Regions from separate parts of the Homo sapiens genome. Here all the other regions are linked to region 3. Evidence: promoter capture Hi-C in human tissues and cell types (Jung and others, 2019). All regions are on one chromosome and are shown on one strand. The core of a region is centred on a gene start or on the middle of the fragment in contact, and the rest is flanking DNA. Distances in the headings are between cores, read along the strand shown.

Region 1 (4,436 bases), core at 1,557-4,056, 110 kb after region 3:
ACTTTTAGTAAGAATAGCTAAACCCACCGTATACATAGGAAATCACCATTTCCCCCAAATATAAAGACAATATGTACTTATATCCTGAGAAGTGTGGGCTCTCATTTTGATAAAGGCAGTCAGTAAAATTTTGCTAAATACAAACTTTTGAATTTCACTCACTTGTAAAAAATTAGGACTGACTTATGTAATCTAAGCTTATCTTACAGTCATTAAACTGTGCAATTCCCCATACCATTCATCACTTTCATGCTATTGTCATACTAAGTATAGGAAGCTCCTATGCCTCTGGTCAATAAATACTTTAGCCTATCTAAGCATGTGAGTAAGTACCACCATTTGGCTATTAGCCCATCAAAAATGTTAGCCTATGAACACAGAACTGAAGTCATAAAGAACACATGGAGCTAAAGCACGTGATGGAAGGCACAATACAAAAAAAACCGAAGAATCAGGTTTCAATTCCATAAGTCCCTTGGAGTAAGTGGCCACAGCCAAATAAAAAGATTAACTGTCTAGCTAGCCTTCATTAAATATCTAAAGATAAATGTTAAACAGACAGGTAAATGTGTATATATACAATAATCCTTTCCTACATAGCTCAAGAGTTAAGAAACAACCAGAATAACATCACATCATCTCTACCCTCAGTTTATATATATATACACCTCTATATGTGTATATATGTATATGCTCATCCATACCATTCTCCTAAAATTGTTTTCAAGTGAACCAAAGAAATGTTGAAAGTTCTGTTTGTCCTCGACTTACAGCTTGTCCGTTGGCTTCATAAAGTGGGCATTTTTGCTTGATCTTGGCCAGTTCCATATTTACTTGTTTGCTGACCACAGCCATAGGATTCCCTCCTAGAAAAAAACTCAAGCAATTAAATTCAATAGACCTATGAAGAGAGAACAAAAACCTTAAAGTAAAAAATATTTTTACTCAAAATATAAAAAGCTCAAAAGCTTACAGTATGTAATTATTTCTCAAAAAAAAAAGCACTCTAAGTAAAAATATGTAAGACAAACATGAAGGCAAAAAAATTACCTATAATCCCACTAATTAACATTACAGATTCTTCTAGATTTTAAGTGTATAAAATTACAGACCCACACAAAAAAGTATCATAATACGTATTGTTTTATAATATCTTTTCAACTTAGCAATATATTGTGGACATCGTTTTACGCTAATACGGAGCTACATGATTTTTAGTGGCTGTATATTTCTCATCGTATAATATTCTAATCTGTGGTTTCTAATGTTCTGCTATGAAAAACAATACCAGGGATGGGCAAGCTGGCTAATGCCCACAACCTCAACCTTCTGGAAGGCTAAGGCAGAAGAATCTCTTGAGGCCAGGAGTTCAACATCAGCCTGGGCAACAGAGCAAGACCCTGTTTCTATTAAAAACAAACAAGGCCGGGCGTTGTGGCTCATAAAGCTACTAACCTATCTCTTTAGATTTCTAAAGCCATGAAACGTATTTGTAATTACAAGCATAAATTAGTGGGGTTCTTTGTACTTGTCCTATAAGCTTGTTCAAAAGCTAGTTTAAGCCATACATGGTGGCTCATGCTGGTAATCCTAGCACTTTGGGAGGCCGAGGTGGGTGGATCACCTGAGGTCAGGAGTTTGAGACCAGTGCTGTAATTCCAGCACTTTGGGAGCACTGCTTGAGCCCAGGAATTCAGATCAGCCTGGCAATATAGTGAGACCTCATCTCTACAAAGAATTAAAAATTAACCAAGCATGGTGGCCCATGCCTGTACTCCAAGCTATTAGGGAGGCTGAGGTGAGAGGATCCTTTGAGCATGGAAGGCAAAGGTTGCAGTGAGCTGAGATCATGCCACTGCAATCCAGCCTGGGCAAAAGAGCGAGACCATGTCTCGAAACAAACAAAAACAATGCCACGTTAATCATGAGATCAGGAGATCGAGACCATCCTGGCCAACATAGTGAAACCTCGCCTCTACTAAAATACAAAAAATTAGCTGGGTATGGTGGTGTGTGCCTGTAGTCTTAGCTACTCGGGAGGCTGAGGGAGGAGACTGCAGTGAGTGGAGGTCACGCCACTGCACTCCAGCCTGGGTGACAGAGCGAGACTCTGTCTCACAAAAAAAAAAAAAAAAAAAGCTTCAAACACAACATTATCTACTTATCTTCATATGATAATTTCCTAGAACTAGAAAAAGGTACTCTAGGTCAAAAGATATGTACAATTTACATTTTCCACATACTGCTATACCTCTCACTAAACGGAAGATGACTATTCTAAACCAATACATTTTAAAATAGCATCTCTGGCTTTAAATTTCTTTTATGAGTCTTAGACCATGTACTATATAGCACAAACCAATAGCTACTTACCAAGACCTGTTACCACCATGGCTCCAAGATCAGCTACATAGTTTCCTTTGCGAAATGTGGCAACTCGTCCACCCACACGATCCTGTTTCAGAAATTAAGTAGCCAAAATCATCAATTCTGTTTTAACCACAAACCTGGCATAGTACCATACCACGGCTCTGTCTTCTATAATTTAAAAATAAAGATGTAGAGTTTACATGGAATGCAATCAACAGTACTATGGGCACAAAGAACAAATGAAGTTTAACTTGAAGACTATTTGAAGGAGAAGCAGGCAACAAATGACATATAATTAAATGTCATATAACTAAACGACACAGAATTAAATGATGTGATATAAAACAGTCTTGACAGCTGGAAGATAAATTTAGTCACAGGTACCACTCTATCCAGTTGTCTATAATACCTTTTAATGTACAGGGCCACCCATATAGAAAATATTTGTTCACAAATCCCAACACTATTTAAACACCAACTTTCTACCACTGTAATCTGACTCTTACACCCTGATCCCCAAAGTTAGCGGGGAAAAATCTGATGGATAATTTTTCTGACAAATGGTTCTCCAGTGCACCCCCATGCCCAGGGGCAGAGAGTCCATACTGAACATAGCCTGTTCACAATACCTTTTATCCCTAAATAGGCCCAGGTTTATCACTGCTGACGAGGGATTTTCAAGTATGGCTGAGTTGTAGCGATAATTTAATGATTATAAATAATGTAAGAGTACTCTGGAACTCCAAACAAACAAACAAAAATGCAAACAAAACAAAAACCTACATACTAGATTACAAACTCCTCATGGGTAGGAATCAAAATGGTCCTATTATTCCTTATTGTATTTTTTAATACAAAATGTACAAAGTGCACAAAGATGTTTTCTAAATATATAAAATTTTTAATAATAGTATATCAGGAAAATATTTAATTTCAATTTCCCCATACTCTTTTAAAAAATTAGCAGTTCAAAGCCATTAGAAGATCATTAGATTTCAAAAATTATTCATGAAAATAGCTTGAATAGTAGCATCCTAATATGATGCTCTTTTTCCTACTGTGTGCCATTATCCCTTATTGCTCCTCCTGTTTCCATTTCTCTCTCTAGGACTAACAGGAAAAAAACCAGTATCTTGGCTTCTAAAAGATGGTTCCTGCCTGAGAAGCAGCTTTTTTTCTTTATCAAAAACAGGGAATTCACTCTGTTCCACCATCAAAAATAACTGCCTCCTAACAAAGGATATGTCCATGAAGGCCCCAAATTTGAGAGCTAACTACAAGAAATAATGATCTGAAAATATCAGTCAGGAAAAGAAATACTCTAAAACCCTCTTCACAGAGTACTTTTCAAAGCATTCATTAAAAAAAAAAGCTTTTTAAAAATATAAATAACACTATCCAAAATACTCTGAGTATTATACAAATCAATTTAGCTTAGTTCAAGTTGTATAATTCTTTAATTTGCAACAGATAATTTGCTTACCATATTTCCAATAGGTCAAGCCTCTAAACTCAAAATGAAATTCTTACCCTGGCTTCCAAAAGTGTGACATCCATTCCAAAACTTTGTAACTGTCGAGCTGCTGCCAAGCCTGAGACCCCAGAGCCTATAATAATTACCTTTCCTGTCTTTTTAGCTAAAAGCAAAAAATGAAAAAAAAGATTTTGTTTTAGGTATAAAAGTTTGTACTTACAGTCTTATTTCATGAAAACCTCTAGGTTCTTAACATAATAGCTTACAAAGTAAAAAATACAGAGAGTTATTTTCAAAATATGGAAACTACCTGAAAATAAATTAACAAATATCTGAAACTTATGAATTCAAATTCAGTGTCGAACATTTATAAATCAAATCCACTATCTTAAGATTTATTTTCTCATTACCTCAGGCATGTGTTTCAGTATCTGTGATTCTTAGTTAATTTGTTAATAATCTGCTTCATTTACTTCATAATTACATTAGGACACATTCTGCATATAAGCTATTTCCCTTAACCTCTAACCTTGTAGTCTTAAGTCTCCTTTTGAAAAAATGATTAAAGCATTAAAAAATCAACTATTGACAA
Region 2 (4,459 bases), core at 1,480-3,979, 93 kb after region 3:
AAATTAAATGGAAAACTGTTTCACTGATTGTTAGTAAAAAACCAAAACATCTGTGGTGATCTCAGTAACTCCAAGGAAAGGGGCAGCGCAGGGTAAGATTGATGGCTATGTCTCCATTTCTCATGCCTACATAGTCATACATGGGTTCTCAGAGAGGGAGATGACTAGTTATCTTGAGGAGTTCAAAATCCAACAGTTGTCTGCACTTTACATCAAATGTAGCCTGAAACCAGCAATAATAATGAGCATTGAGCCTATCCCCATAGCAAGCACAGGGAAACTCTATCTCTGAAGAAGTCAACTTATTAGCAGGACTGCTCCAGAACTAGGAACCAAACGTAAGCGAATTAGCCCAAATGCATAGAAAAAGCCAAAATGAATCCAAAGACCAAAATGCGGATGGTGAAATATAAGGGGTGGGTCCTAGTGGAGCCCAGGGGCCAAAATCCTGGTATTTATGAATATACTTAACAAAACTAGATCCAAACTCACTGGGTCACCAAAATGGAAAACTTTTTGAGCACTGACATGGTGCTCAAAGGAAATGCTCACTGGGGCATTAGAGATTTCAGATTTTCAGATTAGGGATGCTCGACCAGTAATATCCAACTAGCTCATGCACAAATTGGAAACTCTAAAACTTGCTTCGATTTCCCAGTTTATAAAATGATAGGGTTAGAACCACCAAAGACTCTATAGGCTCAACTGTCTATAAATGCCAATTTTTACCTATGGTGTCATAAACACTCTATCAGGAAATGTACCTGATAGGTCGCACCTAACAAAAGATCAGTCCTGTTTCAGGAGAGTTCTCTCTTACCTTTTGTAAAGCAGTGACATACCTGAAGCCGTGTAGCGAACCTGTCGCACTGCTGTATTCAGTTTAATGTCTAGGCCTTCTGCTAAAGCCACAGGCACACACGAGTAGCCATTCCTTACTGTCAGGTGGCTGCCAGTGAACTCAAAGTCATCATCCTAAAGAGGAGAGAAAAGAACATATTTCCAACCTTTTATTAATCTGTGTCATTTGCACCTAGTTCTGTACAACAACAATGAAAACACAAGCTTGTGGAAACAGTCAATATTTTAAGGCAAACTAAAGAACAAATCACTCAGTATTTAGCTACAGTTACCAAAGGAAACTGAAGGAAAAAGAGAAAACACCAAAAAATGTCCCTAAATCTTCGGGTAGTGAGATTAGGGAAGTTTCTTTTGTCCCTGGATTTTTTTTTTTTTTTGATACAGAGTCTTGCTTTGTCATCCAGGCTGGAGTGCAGTGGCGTGCTCTCGGCTCATTGCAACCTCGGACTCCTGGGTTCAAGTGATTCTCTTGCCTCAGCCTCCCAAGTAACTGCTGGGATTACAGGCATGTACCACCACACCCCGCTAGTTTTTGTATTTTTAGTAGAGACGGGGTTTCACCACGTTGGCTAGGCTGGTCTCAAACTCCTGACCCACCCACCTCAGCCTCCTAAAGTGCTGGTATTACAGGCATGAGCCACCACGCTCGGCCTTCCCTGGATAGTTTTTATCATTCCAGTCCAATACCACTAAGTCCGGATCTTCTATGGTGGTTAGGGTAGGGAGGTGGTAGGGGGAATGATGATTCAGGAAATTCAGATGATTAAACATCATTCAAGTTTATTTATCTGGCTTTTGAATACATTACAGACTTGAAGGATATCAGGGTCACAGTCCTGATTACATTTTCTTTTACCTGAGAGCAAAATCAGTTTTTATTCTTTAAATTTACAGGTTTGAAGTTGAGGAAGATTTCCAAAACTAAGTCAGTCAAACTAGATGAAGGTAATCTAGGACCATAAAGAGTGGCCCAAGACAGTCCATACAGTAAAAAAAAAGTCAGGAATTGACCAGGAATTTAAAGATCCCCAAAATGATCTTACTTCTTTGAATTTACTGAAAATTTTTCTATGTAACATTTTTTTTGTAAGCTGGTAAGGATTTCTAATTTCATGAAATTCTTGGGGAAATTAGATCAAAATACTGGGCTGGCAGCAACACTCTACTTCAGCTGAAATCACTCATTTAAAATTTAATACTATTACAAATAGACACATATTGAAACATCAAATGATAAATCAATGACTAGAAGGGCCTAAGTTAGTATTTACATGAAAAACCACAAAGGAACTGGTAGTTCTGCAAGACTTTATCTCTAACAAGTCCAACTCTTCAAATACTAAAACTATCAGATTATAATCTAAAGATTAAGAAGTCAAAATAATTTTTTTTTTGAGATGGAGTTTTGCTCTTGTTGCCCAGGCTGCAGTGCAGTGGCGTGATCTCGGCTCACTGCAACCTCCGCCTCCTGGGTTCAAGCGATTCTCTTGCCTCAGTCTCCCAAGCAGCTGAGACTACAGGCATGCGCCACCACGCCAGGCTAATTTTGTATTTTTAGTAGAGATGGGGTTTCACCATGTTGGCCAGGCTGGTCTCGAACTCCTGACCTGAGGTGATCCGCCTGCCTTGGCCTCCCAAAGTGCTGGGATTACAGGCATGAGCCACCATGCCCAGCCTGTCAAAATAATTTTTATTAGGAAAATGTATAATGTAAACTAAAATATATAAATAAAAATTTAATAATTTACTTCTATACATTTTTTTTTTTTTTGAGATGGAGTCTTGCTCTGTTGCCCAGGCTGGAGTGCAATGGCGCGATCTCCGCTCACTGCAGCCTCTGCCTCCTGGGTTCAGGCAATTCTCGTGCCTCAGCCTCCCAAGTAGCTGGGATTACAGGTGCCCGCCACCATGCCCGGCTAATTTTTGTATTTTTAGTAGAGACAGGGCCAGGCTGGTCTTGAACTCCTGACTCAATTGATCCTCCTGCTCTGGCCTCCCAAAGTGCTGGGTTTAAAAAGGCGTGAGCCACCGTACCCAGCCTATACAGTCTTAATTCTGGCCAAAGTCTCAGATTTAGAGATTGGTCCAAGAAGCCTTGTGATTTCTCACTTGAAGAGTAAATCACACTGAAATTTAAGAAAAGATGGTATAGCCCTGCTCACTGAGAACTATAAAACATCACTGACATAAACGAAAGAAAACTATTTTTGGAGAAGTATACTGTATTTAAGGATAAGAATATTCAATATTGTTAAGATGGCAATTCACCCTAAATTGACCTAGAAATTTAATGCACTCCTAATCAAAATCCCAGAAGGTGATTTTTGTAGAAATTGACAAGTTGATTCTAAAACTGTTATGGAAATACGTACCTTAAAATAGCCAAAACAATTTCAAAAATGAACAAAGTTGGAGAACTTACAAGACAGTATGATAGTGGCATATGGATAGACAGATAAATTAACAGAAAAGACAACCCTAAATACTCATGCTTACATGCCAATTAATTTTCAACAAAGGTGCCAAGACAAATGAAGAAAAGGATAGTGCTGGAATAATAATTACATAACTATATGGAAAAACATGAACCCTTCACTTACCTTTCCTTAAACATAAAAATTAACACAAAATGGAGTATAGACCTAAACATAAGAGCTAAACCCATACAATTTCTGCAGGAGAACACAGGATAACATCTTTGTGACCACAGGTAAGACAAAGATTCTTTTCAAGATAGAAAAAGAACATGGTTTAAAAGAAAAATTTTATAAATAGGAATGGGAGTCCAAGGCAGGAAGATCACTTGAGCCCAGGAGGTAAAGGCTGCAAGGGAGCCATGATCACACCACTCCAGCCTGGGCAACAAAGCAAGACCTTGTCTCAAAAGAAAAAAATTAAAGTAAAAACTTTTACTCTTTGAGACAGATTTAGAAAATTAAAGACAAGCCACAGATGACAAGGAAATAAATATTTGTAAAACATAAATCTGACAAAGGACTTCTGCCTAGAATTTAAAGAACATAATAAACTTCAAACTCATCAACAAGCAGACAATCAGACTTTTTTAATAGGCAAAAGATCTGAGCAGACATTTACTCAAAGATGACATATGAATGGCTCATAAGCTCAGGAAGAGTTGCTCTACATCACTAGTCATCAGGGAAATGCAAATACTACTATACCTATTAGAATGGCTGACATTTTAAAAACTGGCATTACCAAGATTGGTGAGGATTTGGAGAAAATGGAATTTTCATACATTGCTGATGGGAAGGCAATTTGGAAAATAGTTTGGAAGTTGATTTATAAAGTTAAAAATCCACTTTCCATAGTACCCAGCAATTCCATTCATAAATATTTACTCAAGAGAAAGACATGAACATTCTTAAGCAGCTTCGTTCATTAGCAGTCAAAAAAGGGAAACAACCCAAATGCCCATTAAGGCACCAGTGGTATATCCACACAATGGAATTCTATTAAATAATTAAAAGGAACAAACTACTGATACAGGCAAAAAAGATGAATCTCAAAAACTTCATGCACATCTCAAAAACTATACTAAGTGAAATATATCACACACAAAAAGCTATGTACTGTA
Region 3 (4,355 bases), core at 135-2,634:
AACATGTGTGGGTTCTGACCTCCAGGAAGTGCTAAGAAACAAATGGGAGGTCAGTTCTTTATAAGTTGTAGTGTTCATGCCCACGTGAGGGTTAAACACAATGTTATTGGTTATTCAGAACAGGGAGGATTGCTTTCTGGCTGGGAGAAGCTGGGAGGTGAGACAGCAGGGGAAGAGCTTCAGCAAAGGGTCAAATGTGGGAAAGCAGTGGGTGTGCTAAGAGAAGTTTGGATAAACTTTGTGTGTGTGTGTGTGTGTGTGTGTGTGTAAAGGTAGGAAGTGATCATACCAGGCCAGGGCTTTGGCCTTTATTCCATAGGCAATAAAGAGCTTACACAAGAGATGTCTCAAGAGACCAACCATGCTGCTGTAGTCAGAGAGGAAGCAGCCCTCAGCCCATCTGTGTCCTGGCTTGTGAATGCTGCTGCGTGCCAGCGTGTGGGAGGGCATCCGCAGCGAGAGCAGTCTCTGGCTGTGTCCTGTACTATGCTGGGTGTGGGTCTTGGGCTGTCTTTGAAGCCTTCCTCCTGGCTTCTCAGGGCACTAGGTGCCTTTTAGATAGTAGACTTAAAGGAAGTATGTCATAGAAGTATGGGAGGGGATTTTGAGATCATCTGGTTATTCCCCCTTCCCATTTTAAAGAAGATGAAAATCGGGAACATAGATGGGAAAGTACTTGTCTAGCATCACACAAAGAATTAATAGCACAGTGGGGGACGGGAACCCATGCCTCCCGAGTCTGAGCTGAGTTCCTTCTCTGCATTTGCAGAGTAATAGAAATAGGATTTGTTGAGTGATTATTCCATATCAGGTTCTAGGCTAAGCACCTTTCCATTGATTATCTCATTTAATCCTCACAACCCTACTGAGAGTGTCCCGCTTTTTTCTTTTTCTTTTGAGACAGGGTCTCACTCTGTCACCCACGCCGGAGTGCAGTGGCACGATCACGGCTCACTGCAGCCTCGACCTCCCTCGGCTCAAGCGATCCTCCTACTTTAGCTTACCGGCGGGCGCCACCACTCCCGGCTAATTTTTGTATTTTTTATAGAGATGGGGTTTCGCCATGTTGCCCAGGCTGGTCTCGAACTTCTGAGTTTAAGCGATCCGTCCGCCTCAGCCTCCCAAAGTTCTGGGATTACAGACTTGAGCCACCACGCGGGCCGAAAGTGTCCCTCCTGAAATCGAGAAGTCTTGTCTTCCATTTCGATTTCCCAGGGCGCCTAGCACAGGACCCAGCTACGGAGGCAATAAAAACTTGGTGGAGTCTAAGTCCTGGGAAGGGAAAAAAAGGACGGAGGGGGCGGGGCCTACAGACAACCCCGCCCATCACAAAGACCCCGCCTTCCAGAACGCTGACGTCACAATTTGGCCCCGCCCCTCATTGTCAGTCCCGCGGAGCCAGAGGAGGCGCCGGTCGCTGGCAGCTGAGCGGCGGAACCCTTCGCTGGCGGGAGCGCGGTTCGGGGCCGCAGAGGTGAGGGTCCGTGAGGCGGCGGCGGCGGGAGCGCGGCGCGGGGAGGGGAGGGCGGCGGGGTTGGGAGGCCGGTCCCGGGTGAGGTCGGGGCACCCGCGGCCACGGGGCAGAAGAAACCGCGGGCGCAGCCGAGGAGAGATGGGGTGTGGAGTTGGGGGAGAGTTGGAATGGATTTTGGAGGAAGGGCTCAGGAGGAGACCTTTTGGGGCGAGACCCAGCACATGTTTGTGGAGTTGGAGGAAGAGACTCTGAGGAGATTTTTCCTCGGGAGGGGGAGGGAAGGTTCTGAGGAGACTTCTTGGTGGGAGCGAGACTCTGAGGAGAAATGTTTGGGGCAGAGACGCGGAGGAGACATTTTCGAGGGGGCGGCGAAGAGTTTCGGGGGTAGAGTTTGGGGTTGGGGGAGGGGGCGCGGGCCGACAGGGGCGGGGGGCGACGAGGCGGCCGTGGAGGGGGCTGCGCGGGGCCCGGCGGGCACCGGAGGAAGGAAGTGATCAGACAGGAAGGGCCCGGGAGCTGCAGCAGCAGGAGGAGGAGGGCGGTTTGGGAGCGCGTCGGGCCGGCGTGCGGGGCCAGCTGCGGGCGCGGGGCGCGGGCCGCGGGCCGGGCGGGGAGGGGTCCCGCGGCCGCCGCAGCTGTCGGCCGCGCCGGCCCGCGTCCCGGGCGCTCTGCTGGTCTCGCAGCCAGACCGCTGGGCCGGGAAGGAATTCGAGGCATTCGCTTTGTTTAAGTTGCCAGTAGACAGTCCTTAGGACTAATTAATGGTGGAATCTGCAGGGGGACGCCGGCGAGCGGGGCCGGGGCCTCCCCCCGCCCGCCGCGGTGAACTTTCCGCAGCGCGGGGCCCGCCTCCCGGCGCACCCCCGGCCCCCGCCCAGCCGCCCGGGCAGGGAAGGAGCCATGGCTTCCCGGAGCGCAGGAATGAAGTGCGGTTTCTGGGGCTGGTGGCCTCTGGCTGCGGAGCCTGCCTGCAGGGAACCTGGCGACCCGCAGCGGCCGCGCTGGGGCTTCGGAGCCCGGTTTAGAGCTCTTGGAGGTGGCTGCGGTTTCTGTGCATAACCTTGGAGGAGCCTCTGTGAGCCGAGAAAGACCATCTTGCTTTGGAGCATCTGTTTCTTCATCGCGTCAACCCCTTTCCTAACACTGCAGAGCTTGTTGTGGCTTGTTTCGGGAATGCCGAGGCCAGTGCTCACCCTTGCGGGTGGGAGAGGGGAAGAGAGTAGGCACCCCCAAAACCCCTGTAGTGTGATTTCCAGAAGGCCAGACTGCCTGCAGCTCCACCGTCGCACCTTCACTGACTTGAATGACCTTGGGAGAAGGATTGCGCTGCTGAGCCCTTGGTGCCTTATCTGTCGTTGGAGGAGAAAATACTCTCTGGACCTCCCTGCCTTTTGGGGATGTTTTGAGGGGTGGGGTTTGCTCAGGGTATTTCTTTTACAGACGGCTGCAGTTCTGGCCTAAGGAGCTGGACTGGTGTCAGAGCCGGGAGAATTCAGATCACCTAATAAGATTTGACTACCTCAAATTAGGGAGGGAGGGGTTTGGATTTTAGGAGGACATTTCTTTTTGGGGAATCTGGAAGGTGTGTTCCAGATTGCCTTCTGTCACCTTGTTTGCAACTTTGGTAGTATTCATGTGGTTAAATTGAATTACCCCCATAGAAAATTCTTCTTTTGTCAGAAATAATTGTTTTGCTCAGAATTCCCCTGGGGGCAGATTAAGGTTTTGCTCAATTTACTCCTAGAAGAATTTACTCCTAGAAGAATTTTCCAGGTTTCTAAAATTAAATCACTTTTCTAAACATAGTAACTAAAGTTTGAAAAGCTGGAAATAGTGAGCTGGGAAGGGAATGGGTTGGAGTATGAAGAAGGCAGCAAACACAGGTTCATTGTTGACCAGTGATTAATAATGCGGATTGTTAATTAGCCTTCGTTGATTATGAGGTGTTTTCTTAATCTTAAATAATTTAAGACCAAGAAAAGGAACTAATGTTGTTGAGTTGCCTATTCTGTACCCAGTAATTATGCTAGGTGGTATAGATCTTAGGCAGTCTTCCCAAGAATTTTGTGAGGTGGTAGTTAGCATCCCTTTTTTTTTTTTTTTTTTTTTTTTGAGACGGAGTGCTCTGTGTCACCCAGGCTGTAGTGCAGTGGTGCGATCTCGGCTCACTGCAACCTCCGCCTCTCATGTTTAAGCTATTCTCCTGCCTCAGCCTCCCGAGTAGCTGGGATTACAGGTGTGTGCCACCTTGCCCGGTTAATTTTTGTATTTTTAGTGGAGATGGGGTTTCACCATGTTGGCCGGGTTGGTTTCGAACTCCTGACCTCAAGTGATCTGCCCGCCTCGGCCTCCCAAAGTGCTGGGATTACAGGTGTGAGCCACCGCTCCCAGTCAGCATCCCTGTTTTATAGATGAGCAAGCCAAAGGTCAGAAAGTAAAGTGGCTGTCCCAAGTTCACACACACAACTAGTAAGAAGTGGCACTGGAATTCATACCCAGGTCTGTTTCTCAGGTCTGTGGTTGTCTCTCTACTTTGCCCACTGCCTTGGGAATCATGAGACCTAGTTTTTTGGCCTTTGACTCAGCCACTGGGTGACTGTGGGCCCTAGAATAAGTCATTTAAGTCTATTCTCCAATAGTATTGCCTTTTCTTTCAGCAGTGTTGTAAATATGCACTTGAAGTGTGCTGTTTTTCTTTTCTTTTTTTTTTTTTTTTTGGTAAAAAGACAAACATATAAGGCTGTAGTAGTGTAGTAGTGGTATGTACTATATGCCTCTAGGTGCTTACTTATTTCTTATGATGAAAGCATTTCTGTTAAAATGGGGAGTACCTAAGTGATCATATATTTCATTTATGTAATGGAAGTTGATGGATAGCTAA

What was found. The method cuts DNA at HindIII sites, captures the fragments that hold promoters and counts their contacts. A contact is called where the count stands out against the background at its distance.
Region 1: a fragment that was not itself captured here is called in contact with the fragment with the promoter of LUZP1 in region 3 in 2 of the 25 tissues and cell types used here (H1 embryonic stem cells and mesenchymal stem cells).
Region 2: a fragment that was not itself captured here is called in contact with the fragment with the promoter of LUZP1 in region 3 in 10 of the 25 tissues and cell types used here (H1 embryonic stem cells, IMR-90 fibroblasts, adrenal gland and 7 more).

Annotation. Positions count from the first base shown.
Region 1 is chr1:23,055,503-23,059,938 of GRCh38, reverse strand. KDM1A (lysine demethylase 1A) reads right to left here. Exons shown (of 21, transcript NM_001009999.3): 7 at 3,901-4,007; 8 at 2,374-2,455; 9 at 772-866. Among named protein-coding and RNA genes, the nearest start is that of MIR3115, 13 kb to the right of the region's middle. The HindIII fragment of the contact is 3,104 bases long and covers 1,255-4,358 here.
Region 2 is chr1:23,073,744-23,078,202 of GRCh38, reverse strand. KDM1A (lysine demethylase 1A) reads right to left here. Exons shown (of 21, transcript NM_001009999.3): 16 at 843-975. Among named protein-coding and RNA genes, the nearest start is that of MIR3115, 32 kb to the right of the region's middle. The HindIII fragment of the contact is 6,172 bases long and covers 1-4,459 here.
Region 3 is chr1:23,165,885-23,170,239 of GRCh38, reverse strand. LUZP1 (leucine zipper protein 1) reads left to right here and starts at 1,384. Exons shown (of 4, transcript NM_001395462.2): 1 at 1,384-1,474. RefSeq lists enhancers at 490-539, 1,615-2,146, 2,147-2,678 and silencers at 1,185-1,244, 2,236-2,375. The HindIII fragment of the contact is 15,099 bases long and covers 1-1,592 here.